Linked DNA regions of Homo sapiens: regions 1 and 2 are each linked to region 3. The links are contacts of gene promoters, found by promoter capture Hi-C in human tissues and cell types (Jung and others, 2019). All regions are on one chromosome and are shown on one strand. The core of a region is centred on a gene start or on the middle of the fragment in contact, and the rest is flanking DNA. Distances in the headings are between cores, read along the strand shown. Region 1 has its middle 36 kb from the start of LINC02634. Region 2 has its middle 10 kb from the start of CREM. Region 3 holds the start of GJD4 (gap junction protein delta 4).

Region 1 (3,320 bases), core at 605-3,104, 330 kb after region 3:
AAACATATCTCATTTACAGAGTAGAATTGAGTGTTTTCAGTATATTTAAAGAGTATTACCACAATCAACACCATCCATTTTAGAACATTTTAATAATCTCATCCATGCCGTAGCATGTATCAGTAGTTCCTCCCTTTTATGGCTGAATACTATTCCACGGTATGGTTTTATCACATTGGATATATCACATTTCATTCATTTATCCATTCAGCAGTTAATGGACATTTGGATTGTTCTCATTATTTAGCTATTATGAATAATAATATGCTACTATGAAAATTCCTGTACAAGGCCAGACGCAGTGGCTCACGCCTGTAATCCCAAGCACTTTGGAAGACCGAGGCAGGTGGATCATGAGGTCAGGAGTTCAAGACCAGCCTGGCCAAGATGCTGAAACTCCGTCTCTACTAAAAATACAAAAAAAAATTAGCTGGGCACGGTGGCAGGTGCCTGTAATCTCAGGTACTTGGGAGGCTGAGGCAAGAGAATCACTTGAACCCAGGGGGAAGGAGGTTGCAGTGAGCTGAGATCGCACCACTGCACTCCACCCTGGGCGACAGAGTCAGACTCTGTCTCAACAAAATAAATAAATAAATAAATAATAAATAAATAATAAAAATTCCTGTACAAGCTTTTATGTAGACATTCCATTTCTTTTGGGTGCATACCTAGGAGTGAAATTGGTGGGTCAAATGGTAACTATGGAAACTTTTAAAGGAGTGCCTGTTTTCCACAATGGCATTTTCCATTCCCACCAGTGTATGTGAGTGGTTCCAATTTCTCCACATTCTCCCTCTTTTTACCTGATGTCTTCATTATAGCCATGCCAGTGGGTGTGAAGTGGCGTTTGATTGTGGCTTTGATTTGCATTTCCCTGATGACTAATGAGGTAGAGCAACTTTTCGTGTGCTTTTTGGCCACATGTATGTATTCTTCGGAGAAATACCTCCAGATCCTTTGCCCATTTTTTATTTAGATTGTATGTCTTTTTAGTATTGAGTTGTAAGAGCTCTTTATGTAGTCTATATACAAGTTGCTTATTAGATATGTGATTTGTGAAAATTTTATTGCATTCCATGGGTTGTCTTTCACTTTCTCAATAGTGTATTTTGAAGTGTAAATGTTTTCTATTTTGCTGATGTCCAATTTCTCTATTTTTTCTTTGACTTCTCTTGCTTTCAGTGTCATATCTCAGAAGCTGTCACTAAATCCAGAGTCATTATTTCTATGTTTACTTTTAAGAGGTTTGTATTTTGGGCTCCTACATTTAATATTTCAATCTGTTTTGAGTTAATTTTTGTGTATGGTGTGAGGTAAGGGTCCAACTTCATTCTTTTGCATGTGGCTATTCAGTTGTCCCAGTATCATTTGTTGAAAAGACTCTTCCTTCCTTCCTTCCTTCCTTCCTTCCTTCTTTCCTTCCTTCCTCCCTTCTTTCCTTCCTTCCTTCTTTCCTTCCTCCCCTTTCCTCCTTCCTTTCTTCCTTCCTTCCTTTCCTTCTTCCTTTCTTCCCTTCTTCCTTTCTTCCTTTCTTTCTTTCCTTCTTCCTTTCTTCCTTTCTTTCTTTCCTTCTTTCCTCACTCTTTCACCCAGGCTGGAATGCAGTGGTGCAATCTCAGCTCACTGCAACCTCCAACTCCCAGGTTCAAGCGATTCTCCTGCCTCAGCCTCCTGAGTAGCTGGGACTAAAGGCATGCACCACCATGCTTGGCTAATTTTTGTATTTTTTGTAGAGACAAGGTTTCATCATGTAGCCCAAGCTGGTATTCTTTCTTTACCAAATGGTCTTGGTACCCTTGTCAAAATCAACTGGACATAGATACAAAGATGAAACGTGGAGATCTTTGGTGATCTGAACAATAGCAGTTTTTATGAAATGATGGAGACAAAAATTTAATGGAAATGGATTCATGGCAGAATGGGATTGTGGAATTGGAAATAGTGAGTAGAAACAAGTTTATTGAGGAGTTTGCTAGCAAAAGCAGCTGGGGGATGGAGCCATAACAGGGGGTTAGGAGTTCAGCTCTTAGCTAAAGACCTCTATGTGATCTTTCAAACTTGATCATAGGCAATTACACAGGCTTTTCCTGGCAGGCCTCACAGGGAAGGCTGCCCTTTCCATGCCAGACTTGATGCACAGTCAGTGCATGACAGTCCTGAAGGGTGCTGTGGTCAAGGACTCAGGTCCCATGGGCAGGCCTTGCTCTCACATATCTGCATTCCTAGTCCAGGTGCCTCCATTTGAAATCTCTTTGGGGTCTCTGAATGAGGCCTTCCTCAGATGCCTCTTCTTATCATGAAGAGAAGAAGGAATCTTGCTTTTCTCTACTTGGACTTGGTTATTTTCCACCCTTAACCCTTCCCCTGATATCTGACCCTCTGCACACTGTTCCATGAGGGAAAACAGAGCAGATGGGAGTGGACATTCCCTCCAAGCGAGCCCTTTGCTTAAGGTATGGCGTTAGATGATTGAAGGCATGACCAGGAGCAGTGGCTTATGCCTGTAATCCCAGCACTTTGGGAGGCTGAGGCAGGTGGATTGCTTGAGGCCAGGAGTTCAAGACCAGACTGGCCAACATGGTGAAACCCCATCTCTACTAAAAACAAAAACTAGCTGGGCGTGGTGGTGCATGCCTGTGATTCCAGCTACTCAGGAGGCTGAGGCAGAAGAATCACTTGAACTGGGGAGACGGAGGTTGCAATGAGCCAAAATTGTGCCACTGCACTCCAGCCTGGGTGATAGAGTGAGACCCTGTCTCAAAAAAAAAAAAAAAAAAAAAAACATTGAAAGCTTGACTGGTGCTTTCATTTTGGCTTGTTGTTTTAATCACGACTCTAACACTACTTGGAGAGCTCTGGAGAGCCGCACTGAGCCCCCAACAGAGGGTGTCTTGTTTGGTTGTTTGTTTTTCTATGGGCGGCATTACCAGCAACATCATGTACTGATGAGAATGGGCCAATAGAGAAGAACTAATGAAATAGAAAAGAGAGAGAGGGCAGCTGGAGGCAGAAGGCATGGTGGATAGTGTGCCTTTGCCAGGATCCCCTCTCGGGGCCAGTGCACCCAGCCCCTGGCTCCTGGCAGGGAAGGTTCACAGCTGCGTCACTTACTGGGAAGGCCCTCAACCACAGAGAACTGCCTTGCCCAAGGGTATTCCCCTCCCAGTAGGTGACCCATGGCCAATACCAGGGTCACAAAAGAATGATCTCCAGCCCAGCTCCAGAGCACCCTATAGAATTGCCTAAAGCTTTAGTTGAACTTGCATTTTGGATCAGTTTCTCCTTCTGCTCAGTCCTGTCTTCCTCAGCTGCCTACACAT
Region 2 (3,446 bases), core at 528-3,027, 490 kb after region 3:
GGATGGGTTGAATATAGCTGGACAGTTCACTCATGAACCGGAAGATTAGAGCAAGGAAGGAACTAAGAAATGGAAAGCATGAAAGGAGAGTTAAGAAATGTGGAAGGTAGAAGCATAAATATTTTTCTAATGGAAATTCCAGAAGGGGAAAAAAAGAACATGTGAAAGAATTATTGCTGAGAATTTCCCAGAATTGAAGACATACTTTAGAATGAAAAAGGCCAACTCTAACTTTGGGATTTCTAGCTTCAGAGAAATGAAAATTTAGAATGACCAAGGGGAGTGCACAGGATTTTTTGGGCAGTGAAACTATTCTGCATGATACTATAATGGTGGATGCATGCTATTACACATTTGTCAAAACCCATTGAATGTACATCACTGAGAATGAAGCCTAATGTATGCACTTTGGATGATTATGATGTGTCAATGTAGGTTCATCAGTTCTAACAAGTAGAACATGCTGGTGCAGGATGTTGATAGGGAGGCTGTGCATATATGGGGGAGGGGATGAAAGGAACTGTGTACTTTCTGCTCGTTTTTGCTGTGCACCTAAAATTGTTCTGAAAAAAATCAAGTCTATTAAGAAAACAAAGACAGTTTTTTAAAGCATAAGAGCATACTTGTTATAAAAATACATGTAATGCAGTGTAATTTTAGAATTCAAGGTCACATATTTCTGTAACACTTTTATTCTTTCATGCCTACAACTTTCATGGAATGGTCCAGTCAAATAGGTTCCACATAATAGGAACCTTCAGTAATACACCACTCACATGTAGCAGAAGGACTTTAAAACAGTATATTCCCAACTCTTCTATTCATTGTGCCAATGTTGCCATATATTTCACTTTTACAAATGCTGTAAACATACAATACTTGTGCTATTTTTGCTTTCGATAGTTGCCTTTTACAGCAGTTAAAAAAAAAAAAAAAGCCAGTTGCAGTGACTCACGCCTGTAATTCCAACACTTTGTGAGGCTGAGGCAGGAGAATTGCTTGAGCTCAGGAGTTCAAGACCAGACTGGGAAACATAGTGAGACCTTGTCTCTACAAAAAATAAAATGCCAGGCATGGTGGCACTCATCTATAGTCCCAATACTCGAGAGCTGAGGTGGGAGGATTGAGCCTGTGAGATAGACTAGGCTGCAGTGAGCCAAGATCATACCACTGCACTCCAGCCTGAGCAACAGAGTTGAGTGCTCTGCCAGTCCACACCAGCCTTCGTGAATTCCGCAATTCTTCTAGCTAAACATATACCAGTATCTGGTTGTGTCTGTCCCAAGTAAGCTAGTGCCCTTCTCTTCCTGCAGGCATCTGTTGCTTCTTAGATTTTGGACCAGTTTTTTGTCCTGGGAACTCAACTCTTCGATAAATTCAAAAATACTCTGTAATTTGAAGGAAGTTTACCTTTTTTTTCATTGTAAGGGTGGAAGAAATGTCTCTTCTGGATGTTTATATCCAAAACAAGCTGGAAATCAGCCCTGGCTAACTTTTTTTTTTTTTTTGAGACGGAATCTCACCCTGTCGCCCAGGCTGGAGTGCAGTGGCACAGTCTCGACTCACTGCAACCTCTACCTCCCAGGTTTAAGCGATTCTCCCACCTCAGCCTCCCGGGTAGCTGGGACTACAGGCGTGCGCCACCACGCCCAGCTATTCTTTTGTATTTTTAGTAGAGATGGGTTTTCACCAGGATGGTCTCAATCTCTTGACCTTGTGATCTGCCTGCATTGGCCTCCCAAAATGCTGGGATTACAGGCTTGAGCCACCATGCCCAGCCAGAGCATCTAATATTTACTGAGTACTGAACATTTACTAAATACTTGACATAATGTTTTTTAAATCCCCCAAAAGTCATATTCTTACATCATAAATAAGGAAAATTTCAGATTGAAAGGATTCAAAGAGGGTTAAACGAGATCACAAAAAAAAGCCACAGCTGGGTACATTACTGTGAAATTAAACATCATCAGAGAGAAACAATAGATATAGATCTTTTCAGCTTATCTATTTCTTACTAAAAAAGAGTAAGTTTTGTAGTTTATGCCTTTCAGAGAATTTCTCTATTTTGTCTCCATTGTCAAATTTATTGTCATAAAATTGTTCATAATTTTTTTTTTGAGATGGAGTCTGGCTCCGTCGCCCAGGCTGGAGTGCAGTGGCATGATCTCAGCTTGCTACACAACCTCCACCTCCCAGGTTCAAGGAATTCTTGTGCCTCAGCCTCCGGAGTAGCTGGGATTACAGGCGCCTGCCACCACACCTGGCTAATTTTTGTATTTTTAGTAGAGACAGAGTTTCACCATGTTGGCCAGCCTAGTCTCAAACTCCTGACCTCAGGTTATCTGCCCACCTCGGCCTCCCAAAGTGCTGGGATTACAGGTGTGAACCGCTGTGCCCGGCCCATAATATTTTTTTTTATCCTTTAATGTCTATCAGATCTGTAGTGATATCATCTTTCAAGCCAAATCTTGGTAATTTTTATCTTTTCTCTTTCCCTGTTTCAGTTTTTATCAATTTTATTGCTCTCTTCAAAGAATCAACATTTATTTATTATTTTATTATATTTTTTGAGACCAGGTCTCACTTTGTCATGCAGGCTGGAGTGCAGTGGCGCAATCTCGGCTCACTTCAGCCTCAGCCTCCCAGGTTCAACCCATCCTTCTGCCTCAGTCCCCCTAGTAGCTAGAACTACAAGTGTGTGCCACACCCAGCTAATTTTTGTATTTTTTTGTAGTGATGGGGGTGTCACTATGTTGCCCAGGCAGGTCTCAAACTCGTGGGCTCAAGTGATCCTCATGCCTTGGCCTCCCAAAGTGCTGAGTTTACAGGTGTGAGCCACCACACCCAGCCAGAACCAACATTTAGATTAATTAATTTATCTCCCTTGTTAATATTTTCTTTTGAGATGGAGTATTGCTCTGTCACCCAGGCTAGAGTGTAGTGGCGCGATCTCAGCTCACTGCAACCTCTGCCTCCCAGGTTCAAGCGATTTTCCTGCCTCAGCCTCCCGAGTAGCTGGGATTACAGGCGCCTGCCAGCATGCCTGGCTAAATTTTTGTGTTTTAGTAGAGACGGGGTTTCATTATGTTTGCCAGGCTGGTCTTGAATTCCTAACCTCGCTATCCGCCCGCCTCCGCCTCCCAAAGTGCTGGGATTACAGGTGTGAGCCACTGCACCTGGCCTTGTTTTCTCTTTGTGCTCCATTTTATTTTTATTTTATTTTTTAGACAGAATCTTGCTGTGTTGCCCAGGCTGGCATGCAGTAGCATGACCTCGGCTCACTGCAACCTCTGCTTCCTGGGTTCAAGAGAATCTCCTGCCTCCTGGGTTCAAGTGATTCTCCTGCCTCAGCCTCCCGAGTAGTTGGGATTAAAGGCGCACATCATCACATCCAGCTAATTTTTGTATTTTTAGTAGAGATGGGGTTTTGCCATATCGGCCAG
Region 3 (3,431 bases), core at 532-3,031:
GAAAGTTTGGCTGAGCAAATTAATGATTTAAATAAGATTTAAATTTTCTTCTTAGGAGAATAAGCCTTTTAAAAGAGGTTGGTGTATTTCTGTAACTGCCAATTCGAGCTGCTGATTTCAGTAAATCTTACTTATGACAACAGTCCAGGGATCTCTATTTAATCACAGGGCTTGTATTTAATGTTAGTCTACGGCCCTTGAAATTGAATTTCTTTATGAACATTCCATTTTTCAGATTTTTTAATCATTCAGAATTCCTCTTCCCCTTTTCCAGTTATTAGGAATGAATGGGGCTTGTCTTTCTTCAATGTATCGTGAAGGAATGACACCAAGCTAGAAAACCAAAATAACTGTCAAGCCCTATTTTCATGGCACCGGCCAACTGTTTCGAAACATGTTTAAAACTCAGCCAAAATAACTTGTGAATATTGTGTTTTGTGATGAGAGAAACATCGCCTGACATCATAAAAACAAAACAAAAATAAATATGTAAAGACAGTCAAACAAAGAATAATATCATTATGTGATGAGTCATTGAGTTGAACTTTTAACATCAAGTTGGTTTTGTCTAAATCTACAAAATAATGAGCCAGAAAAGTATCAACTGCATCTCCGGCATATATTCATCCTTTTCTGACCCCCATACCTCTCTGAAAATGTGAGTCGTCTGCATTAAACAAAAATCTATTATTTTCTTTGTTAAAAAAAATAACTAAACTTGGGATTTGGTTTAAAGTGCACAAGAGAAATGGCTACTCCTTAAAAATTAAGCTTCCAGGCCAGGCGTGGTAACTCACGCCTGTAATCCCAGCACTTTGGGAAGCCAAGGCGGGTGGCTCACGAGGTCAGGAGATCGAGACCATCCTGGCTAACACGGTGAAACCCCGTCTCTACTAAAAACACAGAAAATTAGCTGGGCGTGGTGGCAGGCGCCTGTAGTCCCAGCTACTCGGGAGGCTGAGGCAGGAGAATCACTTGAACCCGGGAGGCAGAGGTTGCAGTGAGCTGAGATTGCATCACTGCACTCCAGCCTGGGCAACAGAGTGAGACTCTGTCTCCAAAAACAAAAAAAAAAAACCAAGCTTCCAGAATAAAACCTAAAGGTATCACCTTCTGATTAACATTTGTTGTTCTGTTCCTTTTCCTGGTAACGTAGCCACACCAGGGTTGCACACAAACACCCCTCCACCTGCTTTGGTCTTTGGAGTCAGCACCCCAGTGTCAGCACAGGATGATCTGTGAGAGAACAATGTCAAACGCAAGACTCCCTTACATGACGGAGGAACCGCGGAACCATTCAAAGAAACTAGAAGCCTCAGCTCTCTTCCCTCCAGAAAGGCACAGCCCTTTCTTTTGGGAGTGGGTGGACTTTCAGCTTGGTGCTTGCACACTGAAAATGAGTAAATACCTGGACCCTTTAAGGACTCAATTCCACCATGGCAGTGGAAATAAAAACAGCGCAGGAGTTTGGAGATGGTCCCAATACTCACCCACCATGGTCACGTTGCAGTTTAATGTGATGATGAGAAACCCTAGCAAGTCCACGCCTTCCATGCTTCCAGAATGTCCCAGGCTCCAGGCTGCAGGAGACACTGGAGGGCTGTGTTCTCCAAGGAGGCGGATAAATGTCCTTTAACTACATAAGACTTAAAGGTGTGAGCTGGAGATAAGAAAGCAAAGGTCTGAGCCAGGAGTAGGAGGTGGGTTTTTCTGTCTCCAAGTTGAGACGGCCCTAAGCCGTTTGCCTCTGAGGCGAAACATTCCTGACAACTGCAGTGACCAGCAGAGCAAGCAGCAGTCATCTCTTATTGTGGGCTATTCTTACTCGCCTGGGATATTCCCGGCCTGTGGCAGCGCTCATATGTCCCCACCAGGACAGCCAGATGCTTCAGGATATAATAGCAGCAACTACTTTTAACCCAAGAAAGAAAACTTCTGCTAACTAGCCAAGTAAATTTCTCTATTAAAAAGGCATTTCCTCCTTGAAAACATTTCCACAACCACTTCACTTGTGCAAGAAGCCCTTAAAGTGTTCACGTTTTGTCTTCTCAATCAAGCATGAATCGCCATGCCACCATCACACGAACCCACAAGGATCTCGCCCTTATTCTGAATTCCTGTGTCATTGGTGCAGGCAGAAATCTGAAACTCAGTTGGGTGTCCCAACTTTAGACCGTGACTTGGTTATTCTCCTGCTGCTTCCTGTGCAGTGAGTGACAACTCTTCGCTTGGAGACAAAAGCCTGGGTGCAAAGCCCGGGGCAGCCCCCTACTCACTGGGGAAGTCATTGGATCCTTCCAGATAGCCTCATCTTGCAATAAGGAGAATCATGCCATTCCACTTGCCATTTGTGGGAGGCTTATGTGAAATGATGGTGTAGAATAAGAGCAACTGGTGTGAAGTGGGTGTACGACAACCCATATCCGTGGGATTTCAATCCCTAATTGGCCTCTACGACCTTCACAGATTACATCTTCCCTTTGTATCTCCCAGCCCCATCTAGCCTGGAGCTGTTCCCATTGAATCTACTTAATAAATGTCTGTTAAATCTGTCATGAAATATCACGGTCTGGACCTGCTGACATCAATCACAGTTGCGTCAAAATCCTATCGCTGCAGCCACCTTCATATCTGGGAAGAACCCATCCTGCAGGGTTGGGGATCTATGATCAGGGTGGAAATTGTAAACTTTAAAAGGAATGATTTCAATTTTCCATGAAAGCTATTCTTTATATCCCCATCTTTTCTTCATTTCTGATCTATTCTTGACTTTAGTAATATCCCTAGAAAGATTCCCAGAAGAGTGCAACAAAGCTACTTTCATCTTTGCTCACATGACATGCTCCCATCCACGGAAAACGTTTTGACCCCCTTGAAAGGAACAGTGGTTTTGCTATATTTTAGTCAAATGCTTCGACATGAGCAAGGAAATTTGAGAAATTGTAGTTAAGTAAAAATATTGAAATAGTCACAGGGTGTAAGTATAAAATAAAGGAGAATTTGTCTCCTAATAGACTGCTCATGGTATTGGCTTTAAAAAAAAAATGAAATATCAGGAAAGCAATTACTGACTCTTGCTGTGTGATAGAAATAGCCCATCCCAAATGTGGAATAAATTAGCCCTGCGCGACCATGAGCAAATCACTGCAGCTTTTCATGCTTCGGTTTTCTCATCAGTGAAGCAGAAAAAAAGAATGTGTTCTTCACCCACTCACAGTGACTGTGATATGCAAATGTGACCAGAGATGTGAAAATGATTTTGAAATGTAAAGAATGACCCAGTGTCAGTGACAGGCGCTTCTCAGGGTTGGCTCCTCTGGTCCCACCCTTCAGGGCATCTTCTGAGCAGCCCATGCCCACCCATCTCCCTTCTCATCCTGGTCACCTTTGCTCTTCCTCCTTGAAGTCTACCCCATCCCCATTCCTTGTCT

The links. The method cuts DNA at HindIII sites, captures the fragments that hold promoters and counts their contacts. A contact is called where the count stands out against the background at its distance.
Region 1: a fragment that was not itself captured here is called in contact with the fragment with the promoter of GJD4 in region 3 in 1 of the 25 tissues and cell types used here (aorta).
Region 2: a contact is called between a fragment that was not itself captured here and the fragment with the promoter of GJD4 in region 3, in 1 of the 25 tissues and cell types used here (mesendoderm cells).

Annotation. Positions count from the first base shown.
Region 1 is chr10:35,278,573-35,281,892 of GRCh38, reverse strand. It overlaps a transcript of CCNY not described here. Among named protein-coding and RNA genes, the nearest start is that of LINC02634, 36 kb to the right of the region's middle. The HindIII fragment of the contact is 4,093 bases long and covers 1-3,320 here.
Region 2 is chr10:35,115,019-35,118,464 of GRCh38, reverse strand. It overlaps a transcript of CUL2 not described here. Among named protein-coding and RNA genes, the nearest start is that of CREM, 10 kb to the left of the region's middle. The HindIII fragment of the contact is 9,031 bases long and covers 1-3,446 here.
Region 3 is chr10:35,603,691-35,607,121 of GRCh38, reverse strand. It overlaps GJD4 (gap junction protein delta 4), which reads right to left and starts at 1,781. Exons shown (of 2, transcript NM_153368.3): 1 at 1,491-1,781. The coding sequence starts at 1,554. GJD4-AS1 (GJD4 antisense RNA 1) reads left to right here. Exons shown (of 2, transcript NR_199600.1): 2 at 1,157-2,560. The HindIII fragment of the contact is 12,098 bases long and covers 928-3,431 here.